3 separate regions of the Homo sapiens genome follow, and regions 1 and 2 are each linked to region 3. Evidence: promoter capture Hi-C in 16 types of primary human blood cells and fetal thymus (Javierre and others, 2016). All regions are on one chromosome and are shown on one strand. The core of a region is centred on a gene start or on the middle of the fragment in contact, and the rest is flanking DNA. Distances in the headings are between cores, read along the strand shown. Region 1 holds the start of IGFL3 (IGF like family member 3). Region 2 holds the start of IGFL2 (IGF like family member 2). Region 3 has its middle 18 kb from the start of PNMA8C.

Region 1 (4,364 bases), core at 1,041-3,540, 320 kb before region 3:
CTGTTAAAGATCAGCTTATGGAACAAATAGGTGAAGTCATTTCCTGAGCCAAAAGATACAGATAATAAATGTTAATAATAGCAGCAGACTAAAAACATTCCTTTTTGTTGTTTGTTTTCCATAGTCAACAGTTTTAGCACAAGGACTTTAGAAAATGACAGATTTTTTTGGTAAAGTTTACTGCCTGAAAAGAGTTTAATAAAGAACATCCAAGGCCTGATTGCTGTTATTCTGAATATAACTTTTAATTACTTTCTGTAAGTTACATTCGGTTACTGTCAGACAACTTACTGTTGCATGGAAAAATGCCCCAAAAAACTGCAATGGTTTACATACATTTTACATTACACGTATTACCTCTTAAAACCCCCAACAGAATAAAGTCTTAGCAAACACAAATTTTAATTTCTGAACACCCTTCCAGTAAGATTGTAAAGGTGGGAGGAAGGGGAGGAAGGACTTGTTTTTTGTATTCCTAGTCTACTTGATTAAAATGTAATCTTCCAAGGGTTTGTTTAGCTCACTATCCAGACTGCTAGGGTTATGATGAACATTATTACTTCTTTCCAGGGTAAAAAAAATGACATTTGAAAATAATGTAAATGCTATGACATGATTTTCCCAAGCATGACCTCAACTTGAAACATTAGATTACTTAAGAATTCTAAAGATTGGTATACCACCACTGCACCAGAATTTTTAATTATTCCAACAGCTACAGGAATTTTTTAATAGTTTTTTTAATTTTATGAACTTAAAGCTGAAGAAAATAACCGATTTAGAAACCATAATAAAAGGACAGATATTTAGCCAGAGATATCAGTTCCTCCTGAAAAAGGATACTGACCTCCTCTCACTGCAGTTTTTCTCCAGGTATCTTACTGATTTCAGATAGAATTTAAAATTCATCTTAAAAATAGAAACAAAAGGACTACTTAAACTGACATTAACTAATAAAAATATGCTCAAATTTACTGACAGAATCATGGACACTTCATACAATACTTAGACTCTACCAGTTTTAAGTAAAGTAAGGAAAAAATTATAATTACAAAGCCAGTCTTTCCCCTTGGGGAAACAAAAAAGCCACTTTTGACCAATTGTTCCCTGCATATACATATACTGTATATTATTATAAGCTTCTTCAGAGAAGCAAAACATCTTTGTCTTCCTGACACTGGATTATTTAGCATGTTTTTTTACATCAGGAAGGCAACTGCACTGCTTGCATTTTTCTACCAGCTGAGTGTCTGGTGATAGCTGGGTGCAAGAAGATTGTGAGTTATTTATGCAGGAGGACTGTTTGTCCTCGACCATGAAGAAAGGCAGACTTATAGCTTATCTGCTTCTTCTTTTTGCTTTCCCCTGCTGCCACCAGCCTGACTCTTTTGCCGTTAGAACTCCACAAACAGGAGTTCCTCTTCAAGCCCTCTGTATCCCTCATCCCTCCCTCATTCCTTTAGTTAAGAGCAAGGTAGGGACCTTTACCTGGTACAGCTCCGGGAGATGGGAGATAAGTGACACTGAGACTTCATACCCAGAACCCTCAACTTCACAAGAAACTTCTGCTGGGGGCCAAAAGACTCGGGACAGCAGAGCTCAAAGCAGGGCCAGAAGGTGCAGGTGGAGCCACAGCGGCGGGTCTCCTTTAAGGATAAGATGGCATCATCATAACAGCACTGCTCTGAAGGGTTGTAGATCTTGTTCCCACACCTGGGTGTCGGCTGGCACAGCCACAGTCCTGAGCCAACAGGAGCGTCTGGGGGCAGACATTGATGGTGTACATCCAAGGAAGAACAGATACTCAATTCCCAGTCTCTTTTCCCAACACCACCTCTTCCCTCCTCATTTTTCCCTGTCCTGTCCTTACCTGTAGTTCCTTTTGAACACTGGAGGAGGAAGACTGTTATCCAGCAGACAAGAGCTAAGGGAGAAAGGAAAAAGGTTGAACATGGAGCTGAGAATGTGACAAGTATGGAAAAAACAAACAAACAAACAAACAGAGGTTAGGGTGGTTTAAAGGTGGAGATTATCACTTGGGGCTAAGTCTGTATGGGATCCCGTTCAGGCAGGCCCTGAGCAGCACGCTCAGTCACCCTTTGAGGTGACTAGTAGGGCACAGGAGGCTGGAATAATGTTAGAGATAAAGAGGAATAAATCGGGTTGAGGTTTGGGAGCTGCACTGGGAATGAGATGAGATGATGTTTGGATTTGGGGTCCTACTTGCCCAAGATGCAGCATCGTGGCCTCATGCTTCCAAAGATGCTCTAGGAGAATTGAAGAAGAGTGGTAAAAGGCTGGAACTTATGGAGACAGCCTAAATGGGGTTGTCTGTTAACCTGGTAAGTTTACTGATTGGATGGCTGCTGATCATGCCACCTGCAGTCTCCCAAGCACATTCCTTGAAGATAACCAAAGTCTCCCAAGCACATTCATTAGTTTCTTTAAGGAGGAGACTGGGTGGCGTAAGGGACCACAGAGCCGAATGTTGCAGACTGACTCATTGCATTCTCCATATACTATTGCAGACCTCAGGGTGAATGAGTGTAGGTTGGTCCTACTCCAAGTTAGGCTTCTAAGAGTTTTCAAGCTCCGACATTGAGGAGACAGTGCCCAACTAAGCTCCAATCAGAGAGAATGCTTCAGCCACTTCCCCATCTGGTTTCACATCCTCCCCTTCCTAATACTTGCTTCTTCTATATTCCCCAAGCACGATGTCTCTGGAAATGTCAAGGGGACCGTTTATGAAGCCACTTTATTTTTTGCTCTGGAGTCATTAGAGTTGCCACCTGCTCTAGCAGTTGAGCCACGGCTCTGGAAACTCCAATAAAGGGGGTAGGGGTGGAGAATAGCAATGGCCCAAATCTCCTGGTGTGCTTGGTGTGAGGATTCAGAGACCTCCAGCATCTTAGTTACATGGTCAGGGAAAGTACTAAACACCTGCTTTTCATAATCATATTATATTAGTGGCCAATGATAAGTGATGTAGTACTTAGGAGTGTGTAGTACTTAGGTGTGCAGACAGAGGGAAGGGCAGGGCAAACTGAGGCCTGCCAGGCAAGTGCCAGCTAGGGAAGGGCTTGGACAAATTCAAATAATCCCGAAGCTGTGGAAAGGACCTCAGTCTTCATGGATGTGTGATGATTCAATCAGAAAATGTCTAAGGATTGGCCAGACTTTCCATCCTCCACTTGCTGGCACAGCATAGGGAAGAGTTGCTGACTTAAGTTCATCCAGCCTGTACCATAGCCTTTGAAATGGTTCTCCTTTTCTGAGCTTCATTCTTAGCTTCCTGTACATGTGCGGAGGTGTGGGGTGTGGTTTGGATGCACAAGGCTGCTCTCCCCTACCCCGGAACCTAAGAAGGCCAACAATGTGAAGATTCCTAGTGAGCCCAGGCTGTCAGCTTGTTTACTACCAAATGTTAAAAAGAAACGTTTGAGTTTGATTAGGTAAAATACAAAGGACAAATAATAATATCTTTAATATACAATTATCATTCTTATTCCAAATGAAACTTCAGCTTTACTATTGGGCATTGGGAAGTTAATGTGTACTTAATTTTTCATCTTACAGAAGTGGCAAGGGGCAGCTTGAAGGGATAATTTTTAATGCATTTTATAATGATAATCATTTAGAGAAATCCTTATGTTGTATCTCATTAACACTAAGATGTTATTGAAAGATACACTGTTGTTTTGCAACTCTAAGATGCAATCTCATCACTTAGAATGTTTATTAACAGAGCTTCTTGCAACATGTTGAGACGTAGACTTTTGGAAGGCGAATAGAAAAATAAAAATATATGGGAAATAAATCTGTTAAAGATTTCTTAAAATGTCTCCACATTTGGAGACTGCCTCCTGTGAATCATCTTTCAACCCCAGATTGGTTCCTGTGCTTTCTTACACAACATCATTCTCAGTTCTACCAACAGCATTGGTCATGCAAAGTTTGGTTTTATTCTAAGCTGCTGACACCCATACTGCAAGTTATCATTGAACTGGTGACACTAGCCCCTTCTTTCTTTGAATTTTCTTTCATCTATTCCTAGAGATTTTGACAACTCCTTCTGCCTTTCATTATGTTGTTTTCCTTGTGCTAGGCAATCCTTCTGTGCCTGTCTCAGAAACAAAATGTGATACTCTTCATCTCTTTATCTTCTTGTGCCCCATAAAGCACTTGGTTGTTGATCTGCAAGAAAATATGTACTTGGGTTCATTCCTAAAACAATGAGCATGTGCTTCATTAACAGTAAATTTACGTCATCGTCTTCTATTAATGTGTCATTCTGCACACACAACACACAAGCCAAATCATGGTGTTTTCTGATATTTAAAATGACAGTTACACTCAACACATGA
Region 2 (4,288 bases), core at 1,117-3,616, 300 kb before region 3:
ATACTCTGGATTCAAGTCCTATGTTAGAGATGTGATTCACAGACACTTTCTGCAGTTGGTAGCCTGTCTGTTGCTTCACTTAACAATTTGTTCATCAAGTTTAACTTTAAAATTTTGATAAGTCCAATCTGTTTTTAAAAAATGGATAATGCTTTTGATGTCTTTTCCCAGATATAAATGTTTTCTCTGATGCCTTCTCCTTGAAATACGTAGTTTTACTTTTCATATCTAGACCATTTGGAGTTAACTTTTGTATAGAGTGTGAGCTTTGGTAGAAGTCTTCTTTTTTTTTTTCATATGCATGCCCATTGTCTCACACCATTTGTTGAAATGACTATCTTTTCCCCCATTGAATTGCCTTTACATCTTTGCCAAAAGACAATTTACTATATTTGTTTGGGTTTATTTCTGGAACCTATTCTGTTCCTTTGATCTATGTGTCTATCCATGTCTATCCATTTGCCAATACTACACTGTTGTCATTACTGTAGCTTGAGTAATTGTGAAATTGGATAGTGTGAGTCCTCTACCATCTTTCCTCATCCAAAATTGTGTTGGCCATTCTAGTTTCCATTGCTTTTCTATATAAATTCTAGAGTTATTTTGTTTCTCTCTCAGACAAATCCTGCTTGGGTTTGATTGGAATTGTGTTAAATCTGTAGATAATTTGGAAAGAATTGGCATCTTACCTAAATTACAGATTCCAAACCACGACATGATATACCACTCTGTATTTAAGGTTTCCTTGAATACTTTAATCGTACACATCCTTTATATGTTCTCCTAGATTTACAGTATACCAGTTCAGTTTTTGGGGAGGGGGGTATTGTAAATGGCATTTTTTTTCTTTAAATTATTGTATCCACTAGTTCTTGCCAGTATAAAGGAATACAATTGACTTCTGTGTGTTTCATACGCTACAACCTTTCTAAATTCACTTATCAGGTCCAGAACTCTTCTACTAACAATGCACTTTTATAAAGCCCTAACACCTCTCCTGATCTCTGTCTCACCCTCCCACCTATCTCACTGTGGGATGGGAAGGAAGTCAATGGAAAACACAGGAGCGCATTCTAATAATAGCCCACATGGTATCCAGTGACACAAATAATAGTGATGGTGACAATAAAATAACAGTAAGAAACACAGAAGGAGCGTTTCCTTGGACAAAGCACTCCAGAAACAACAACAAAAAGGGGCTGCCTTTCCATCTATTCTATGAATCCCAGATGTCTATTTTATCACTGTCTGTTCCTTTTCTGTTCTCCCTGGCAGGGTTTTTACAGCCCCTGCTCTTTTTCTAGATTATGCTGCATCTTCACAGTTTCCCCTAAATGACTCTGAAGAATTATAGACAGTGCTGTCTACAATTATAATAATGGATATGGTGGTCCATTTCCAAGACAAAGTACCTCAGATAGGCTGAGGCCCACAAACTATGGAAGGACAGAATATACTAGGCCCATAGCTGGTGCATGCTTGTCGGGGTCCCCTTAGTTACCCTCTCCCAAACCAGAGTTTAGTCTAGAATGAAAGTTTACTAGCCAGCAAAATAGCTCACTTTATCTATTCTTATCAGCTTGCCTGACTGCCTAGGTCATAAGTCAAATACTTGAAAAGCCCTCGAGCTGGCTTTGATTGCAATGTATTATAGGCTGCAACAAAATGCAGTGAGACAATCCTAAAGAAAACACCTAAAAGCCTCAACCCAGCAACCAATAGGCGACGTCTGGGAAGATCGTGACCCCATCGTACTTAGCCTACGAGGAACCAGGGGAGAGACTTGTGCACTAGGGGATAAATAGCTTGTTGTAACCGTACTGGGTGTGCCTGCCTACCAGACATTCAATCTTGCAAGACCATCATTAAAAGTCTTGCTTCCACTGTTTTCTGTGTCTCTGAGTCCATTCTTTGGGTTTGGACGGGTGCGTTTGTTTCTCATAGTGCAGGTCTGGAGCCGGACTGAGATGGGGAGTAGAGGGACCCCTTGAAACTTCAGGGTGGATGAATATGAAGTTTCATCACCAGCTGTGATGTTTGGTGAGTAGTATGCTCTCAGATAAGTGAGAGCCAAGGAATCTCTTTCAAGTCTCTTTGCCGTGGGCAGAGTTCAAAGAATGACACTCACTCACGGCTTTGAAAGGTTCTAGGGAAGCCTTTACTCTGAGATTTCGAGAGGTCTGAGAAGGTAGCAGTCACTTGGAACAGGTCCAGGAACATCTTACTAAGCTGTTGATGCAGTTTTTTCTTATGCTTTCTGTGGCTTCTCATGCCCCACCCTTTCCAAGAGGCCAGTGCTTCTGGGCACCTCCCTAAATGTGGATAAGTTCATAGCCTACATAAGTCCCTGTATAAAGTCACTGACCCATTTGCACTGCTGCTGTCCCATCAGCTGCTCTGAAGCTCCATGGTGCCCAGAATCTTCGGTAAGGTAACCCTTGCCCCAGGTTGAGCTAATGCCTACTGTTATCCCTAATGTACCTCTGAACCTCAAACTTAATTCTCTCTTCCCTATTTAATTCTTGGTTTCCCACCTCATAATCACCCGTGTCCTCTCTGACTGCATTGCAATCTCTCTTCCCCACCTGCAAATTCCAGAAGCTTAACCCTTTCCAGAGCCCTCCCTGCATTTCCTCACCTGCCAAGCCCAATGCCCAGAACCTGCACACAGAGTCAGTCCCAAAATCTGCTCTGAGCTGTTACAGCAACCAAAGAAACTCAGAGACATCATCTTGTGCCCCATGATCATGATCTGGTGACCCCAGAATCACTGTCATTCTTCTCTCAGCTGATCTTTATTTTTGAACTCCTGGGCTCAGACTCAGAAGGGACCATAGGTGAGAATGGGTGTGGTGAGTGGAGGGAGAAGAAAGGAGGGAGGATTATAGCACTGTGGATAGGGTTGGGGGCTCCCAGAGGTCCCCTGCCAGCTCATCAGCTCTGACTCTTCCAGATATTGGACTGTGGTTGTGCCAGTTGACACTCAGGAGTGGAGACTAGATCTGCAATCTGTTGGGACTGTGATGAGGGGATCATCCTGCCCTCGAACCAGACCCAGCCCTGTAGCCCAGGCACTATTGCCTGGAGTTCCTGGGCTCTCAGCGCCAGGAAATCATGAGGTTCAGTGTCTCAGGCATGAGGACCGACTACCCCAGGAGTGTGCTGGGTAAGTAAGGGCAGCCCAGGCAGTGGACTGAGTTTTGTTGTGTGTATTCCATCAAGATGAGCAATGCCTGCTGTGTTCACTAACTTCTTTTTGGGCAACCATCTCTCTCTCTCCCTCTCTCTCTTCTCTCTCTCTCTCTTCTCTCTCTCTTTCTCTCTCCCTCTCTTTCTCTCTCCCTCTCTTTTCTCTCTCTCCCTTTTCTCTCTCTCTCTCTTTCTCTTTCCCACTCACCCCTCACCCTTTCCACCTCTCCCCCTCTTCCCCTCTCCCCCTCCCCCTCCCCTCCCCATCTCCCTGTGTCCCTCTGTCTCACATCCCCCTCTCTTCTCTTCCCCTCTCCCCTCCCTGTCTTTTCCCTCCTCTCCTTCCTTCTCTTCCTTCCTCTCTCAAGTTGAAGGAAGAGTAGCTCAGTCATCTTCCAGAATTGCTTTTTACCTCCGAGTCACCTGGCTCCATAGCCCCCGACCACCGCATGCCCATTTAGCTGTTCCTCTCTTTCCCCTCTACCCTCACCCTTGGCAACCACCAGTCAGCTTTCTGTCTCTATGGATTTACCTATCTGGGACATTTCATATAAATGGAATCACACCATTTATAAGTGACCTTTCGTGTAACTTTTTTTTTAACTTAATGTTTTCAAGGCATATCCCCATTATAGAATTTATTAGTACTTCATTCCTTTTTACAACTGAATAAATTCAATTGTATCCATGTATCAGCATTCATTTATCCATTCATCTGTTGATGGACACTTGGGCTGTTTCCACCATTTGGCTATTGTGAATAGTGCTGTTACAAACATATGTATACATGTATTTGCTTGAGAACCTGTTTTCAGTTATCTTGGGTGTACACATAGGAGTGGAATTGCTACGCCACATGGTAATTCTGTTTAACTTTTTGAGGAATTGGCAAACTGTTTTCCACAGAGCTGCATCAATTACATTCCCACCAGCAGTGTATGAGGGCTCACATTTCTCTCCAGATTCTTCAACCTTTGTTATTTTCTATTTTCCTGTTTATTACAGTCATCTGGGTGGGTGGGTGTGATATCCTGTGTAGTTTTAATTTGCGTTTCCTTGGTAAATAACAATGCTGAGTGTCTTTTCCATGTGCTTATTG
Region 3 (4,276 bases), core at 1,554-4,053:
CTCCTGACCTCATGATCTGCCCACCTCGGCCTCCCAAAGTGCTGGGATTACAGGCGTGAGCCACCTCTCCTGGTCCTTAATTTTTAAAGTTTTTGTAGAGACGGGGTCCCACCATGTTGCCCCAGCTGGTCTTGAACTCCTGGGCTCAAGTGATCCTCCTGCCTTGGCCTCCCAAAGTGCTGGAATTACAAAGTGCTGGTGACGTGAACCACCTTGCCCAGCTGTGTACACTCTAAATGGTTCATTTTATATTATTTCTAAATGGTTCATTTTATATTATGTGAATTTCACCTCAATACAAAACTTTTTTTTTTTTCAGACGGAGTTTCCCTCTTGTTGCCCAGGCTGGGGTGCAATGGCACGATCTCGGCTCACTGCAACCTACGCCACCCCAGGTTCAAGCGATTCTCCTGCCTCAGCCTCCCGAGTAGCTGGGATTACAGGCACGCACCACCATGCCCGGCTAATTTTGTGTTTTTAGTAGAGATGGGGTTTCACCATGTTGGTCATGCTGGTCTCAAACTCCCGACCCCAGGTGATCCACCTGTCTCAGCCTCCCAAAGTGCTGGGATTACAGGCGTGAGCCACCGCGCCCGGCTTTTTTGTTGTTGTTGTTTTTTGTTTTTTTTAATTGACTCAGCTTTGGGCTTGAACTGTTAGAATGATGGTGCGTCCATTCAGTGAGATGAGGAAGCTCTAGGGAAAATGAACTTGGGAGTGGGGAATCCCATTTTGAATGTCTTAAATTTGATATGCCTTGTAGGCTTCCAAGCCGAGTTAGATATATGAGCCTGGAGTTCAGAGATGGGGTGGAGATAAAAATTTAGAAGCCATTGGCACACGGGAAATATCTTAAGCCATGGAGCTAGATGAGCTCATTTAGGCCAGAGGTGTCCAATCTTTTGGCTTCCCTGGGCCACACTGGAAGAAGAATTGTCTTGGGCAACACATAAAATACGCTAACACTAACAATAGCTGATGAGCTAAAAAAAAAAAAAAATCGCAAAAAAAAAAAATCTCATTTTTTGTTGTTGTTGTTGTTTTTTGTTTTCGAGACGGAGTTTCGCTCTTGTTGCCCAGGCTGGAGTGCAATGGCCCAGTCTCGGCTCACTGCAACCTCCACCTCTGGGTTCAAGTGATTCTCCTTCCTCAGCCTCCCAAGTAGCTGGGATTATAGGCATGCACCACCACACCCGGCTAATTTTGTATTTTTAGTAGAAACAGGGTTTCTCCATGTTGGTCAGGCTGGTCTCGAACTCCCGACCTCAGGTGATCCGCTCGCCTCAGCCTCCGAAAGTGCTGGGATTATAGGCGTTGCCACCGCACCCGGCCAAAATCTCATAATGTTCTAAGAAAGTTTACGAATTTGTGTTGGGCCACCTTCAGAGCCATCCTGGGCCGCATGCAGCCCACGGGCCGCAAGTTGGAGAAGCTTGATCTAGGGAAAGGGTGTGGGGAAAGACGAAGAGATGGCCCAAGCCCATGCCTCTGGCAGTCCCAGCGTGTCAGTGTCAGACAGCAGACAAAGAATCCAGGAGACAGCAGAAGAGGGCTGGGGGGAAGCCCAAGAGTGAGTGTTTGGAAAACTAAAGAGAGTAACAGCAATCGGTTGGAATTGGAGTGTATCCATTTATAGAGGACTATGCTTAGTGGTACACAAACATAAATTGTGGCGCATCCGTGTAGTAGAATACTATGCATGGTTACACGAAATAAGGAGGAAGTTCTCTATGTGCTGAGATGGGAAGATTTCCTTTGTATGAAATGATTTGCTGACATCCTCACAAAACACTGTTTAATAAAGCAAGGTGTATAACACTGTAAAAAAAAATAAAGAGAGAGAGAAAAATTCCTTTTTTTTTTTTCCTTTTCGAGACAGGGTCTCACTCTGTCACCCAGGCTGGAGTGCAGTGGTGCAATCATGGCTCACTGCAGCCTCCCAGGCTCCAGCGATCCTCCTGCCTCAGCCTCCCAAGTAGCTGGAATTACAGGCACCCGCCACCACGCCCGGTTAATTTTTGTATTTTTAGTAGAGACAGGTTTTCACCATATTAGCCAGGCTGGATCTCGAACTCCTGGCCTCAAGTGATCCACCCGCCTCGGCCTCCCAAAGTGCTGGGATTACAGGCGTCAGCCACCGTGCCTGGCCACAGGACTGGCTTTCAATATGAAGCACAGAAACGTCCTCCAAGGGGCAGGAGAGAAGGACAAGGGCACACACGTCCAGCAAATGCAGATTTCCTGGTAAGAAGCTGAAGAAACAAATTTTATTATTTAACAAAAATGTAGATGATGCTTACTATATGCCTGACCCTGTTCCAAGCACTTTGCAAATACTTCATTTGCATGAAAAGCCTTTGAGGTAGCTACTGTTATATTCTGTCATCCTCATCTTACAAATGAGGAAGCAGGCACAGAGGGCAATCACCTTCCCCAAAGTCACACAGCTGGTAAGAAGCAGGGCTGCTTAAAGGTGGGCAATCGGGCAGCAGAATTCACACTCTTAAACAGTACTCCATAATACTTCTCTGTGCTTGACCTCCTGGGGCTCAAGCAATCCTCCTGGGCTCAAGCGATCCTCCTGCCCCAGCCTCCCAAGCAGCTGGGATCACAGGCTTGCACTACCATGCCTGGCTAATTTTTTTGTATTTTTAGTAGAGATGGGCTTTCACCATGTTGTCCAGGCTGGTCTCAAACTCCTGGCCTCCAGAGATCCTCCAGCCTCAGCCTCCCGAAGTGCTGGGATTACAGGCGTAAGCCACAGTACCCAGTCCTCTGTGCTCTGTTCTTGATAAATGACATTTTATTGTACAGATGTGTTTTATTTTTAGATGGAAGATCAGTGGGTGAAGATTCAGGCTGGTTCAGGGCACTGGGAGTCTTGAGGAGAGAGGAGACTCAGAAGCTGCCGTCTTGGAGAAAAAAACTTACTAGAAAAACAGGAGGACTCCATGTTTGAGGTTTGTGGTGCTGGGTTTTCAGTGAAATCCCAGAGGCTGGCTGAGATTTTTCCTGCTTCGTGGGAGGAAATGGCTTTCGCATGGGAGGGGGAAAGATAAGTATGGCCCAGTTCACAGTCTGTCTGCAAATCCCCAGGCACTCTGGTTCCCCGGTTCTCTCGGGGTCCTGGAATCTGGTGCTGGGTGGCCTGTCTGCCCTTCCAACTGGCCACCTGGTCCCTGTGAGCTGAACTCCAGGAACCCAGCATGGCCAGGCCAGGCTGCAGGGGAGGGAAGGGCCTGGAAGCCTGTTCCCAGGCCATGGCCAAAGGAAACGAGTTACCTTCCAGGAACTGGAGCCCAGAGGCAGGGGTGAGGAGCTGGGGAGCTGGGGGCCTGGAGGGAAAGCAGTGCCCAGAACTTGCAGGGCCTCTGAAGCTGGGCTGGAGTTTGGCTCTGGGCACGAGAGCCAACAGGGCCTGTCATGGGCACAGTCTCCACCCCATGATTTGAGGGCTGAATAATGGTCCTCAAATACAACCACCTCCTAAGTCCTGGAACCTGTAAATAGGTGACTTCATGTAGCAAAAGGGACTTGGAAGATGATCCTGAATTATCTGGGTGGGACCAATGTCATTACAAAGGTCTTTATAAAGAAGGCCAAGCTCAGTGGCTCACACCTATAATGCCAACATTTTGGGAGGCCAAGGCAGGAGGATGGCTTGAGCTCAGGAGTTCAAGACCAGCCTGGGCAACATAGTGAAACCCCATCTCTACTAAAAATACAAAAATTAGCCAGGTGTGGTGGCAAGTGCCTACAGTACCAGCTACTCAGGAGGCTGAGGCAGGAGAATCGCCTGAACCCGGGAGGCGGAGATTGCAGTATGCCAAGATTGCCCTGGGCGACAGAGCAAGACTCTGTCTAAATAAATAAATAAATAAATAAATAAATAAATAAAATTTAAAAAGAAAAGAGGGAGACGAGAGGGTCAGAATCGGAAAAGGGAACGTGCCAATGGAAGCAGGGTTTGGAGTCATGCAAGAAACGGCCCCAAGCCAAGGAATGCAGGTGGCCCCTGTACTCTGGGAAAGGTGAGGACACGTACTCTTCCCTGGAGCCTCCAAAGGAACACGGCCCTGCTCATCCATTCAGACTTGTAACCTTCCGAACTGGCAGCCAATAAATTTTGTGTTGCCTTAAGTTAATCCATTTATGGTAATTTGTTACAGTGACAGAAGCTTGAGACAGCAAGTTTCTTTTTTTCTTTTTTTTTTTTTTTTGAGACAGAGTCTTGCTCTGTCACCAGGCTGGAGTGCAGTGGGGTGATGTCGGCTCA

The links. Contacts are between HindIII fragments. The CHiCAGO score rates a contact against its expected background, and 5 or more counts as called.
Region 1: the fragment with the promoter of IGFL3 here is called in contact with a fragment that was not itself captured in region 3 in 1 of 17 cell types (M2 macrophages); the score reaches 5.4 in M2 macrophages.
Region 2: a contact is called between the fragment with the promoter of IGFL2 here and a fragment that was not itself captured in region 3, in 1 of 17 cell types (M1 macrophages). The highest score is 5.6, in M1 macrophages.

What each region holds. Positions count from the first base shown.
Region 1 is chr19:46,122,398-46,126,761 of GRCh38, forward strand. It overlaps IGFL3 (IGF like family member 3), which reads right to left and starts at 2,291. Exons shown (of 4, transcript NM_207393.2): 1 at 2,228-2,291; 2 at 1,871-1,924; 3 at 1,489-1,759. The coding sequence starts at 2,252. It also overlaps a transcript of IGFL2 not described here. The HindIII fragment of the contact is 3,515 bases long and covers 1,138-4,364 here.
Region 2 is chr19:46,145,872-46,150,159 of GRCh38, forward strand. It overlaps IGFL2 (IGF like family member 2), which reads left to right and starts at 2,367. Exons shown (of 4, transcript NM_001135113.2): 1 at 2,367-2,426. The coding sequence starts at 2,408. The HindIII fragment of the contact is 5,659 bases long and covers 1-2,599 here.
Region 3 is chr19:46,444,799-46,449,074 of GRCh38, forward strand. No RefSeq gene overlaps it. Among named protein-coding and RNA genes, the nearest start is that of PNMA8C, 18 kb to the left of the region's middle. The HindIII fragment of the contact is 2,746 bases long and covers 1,431-4,176 here.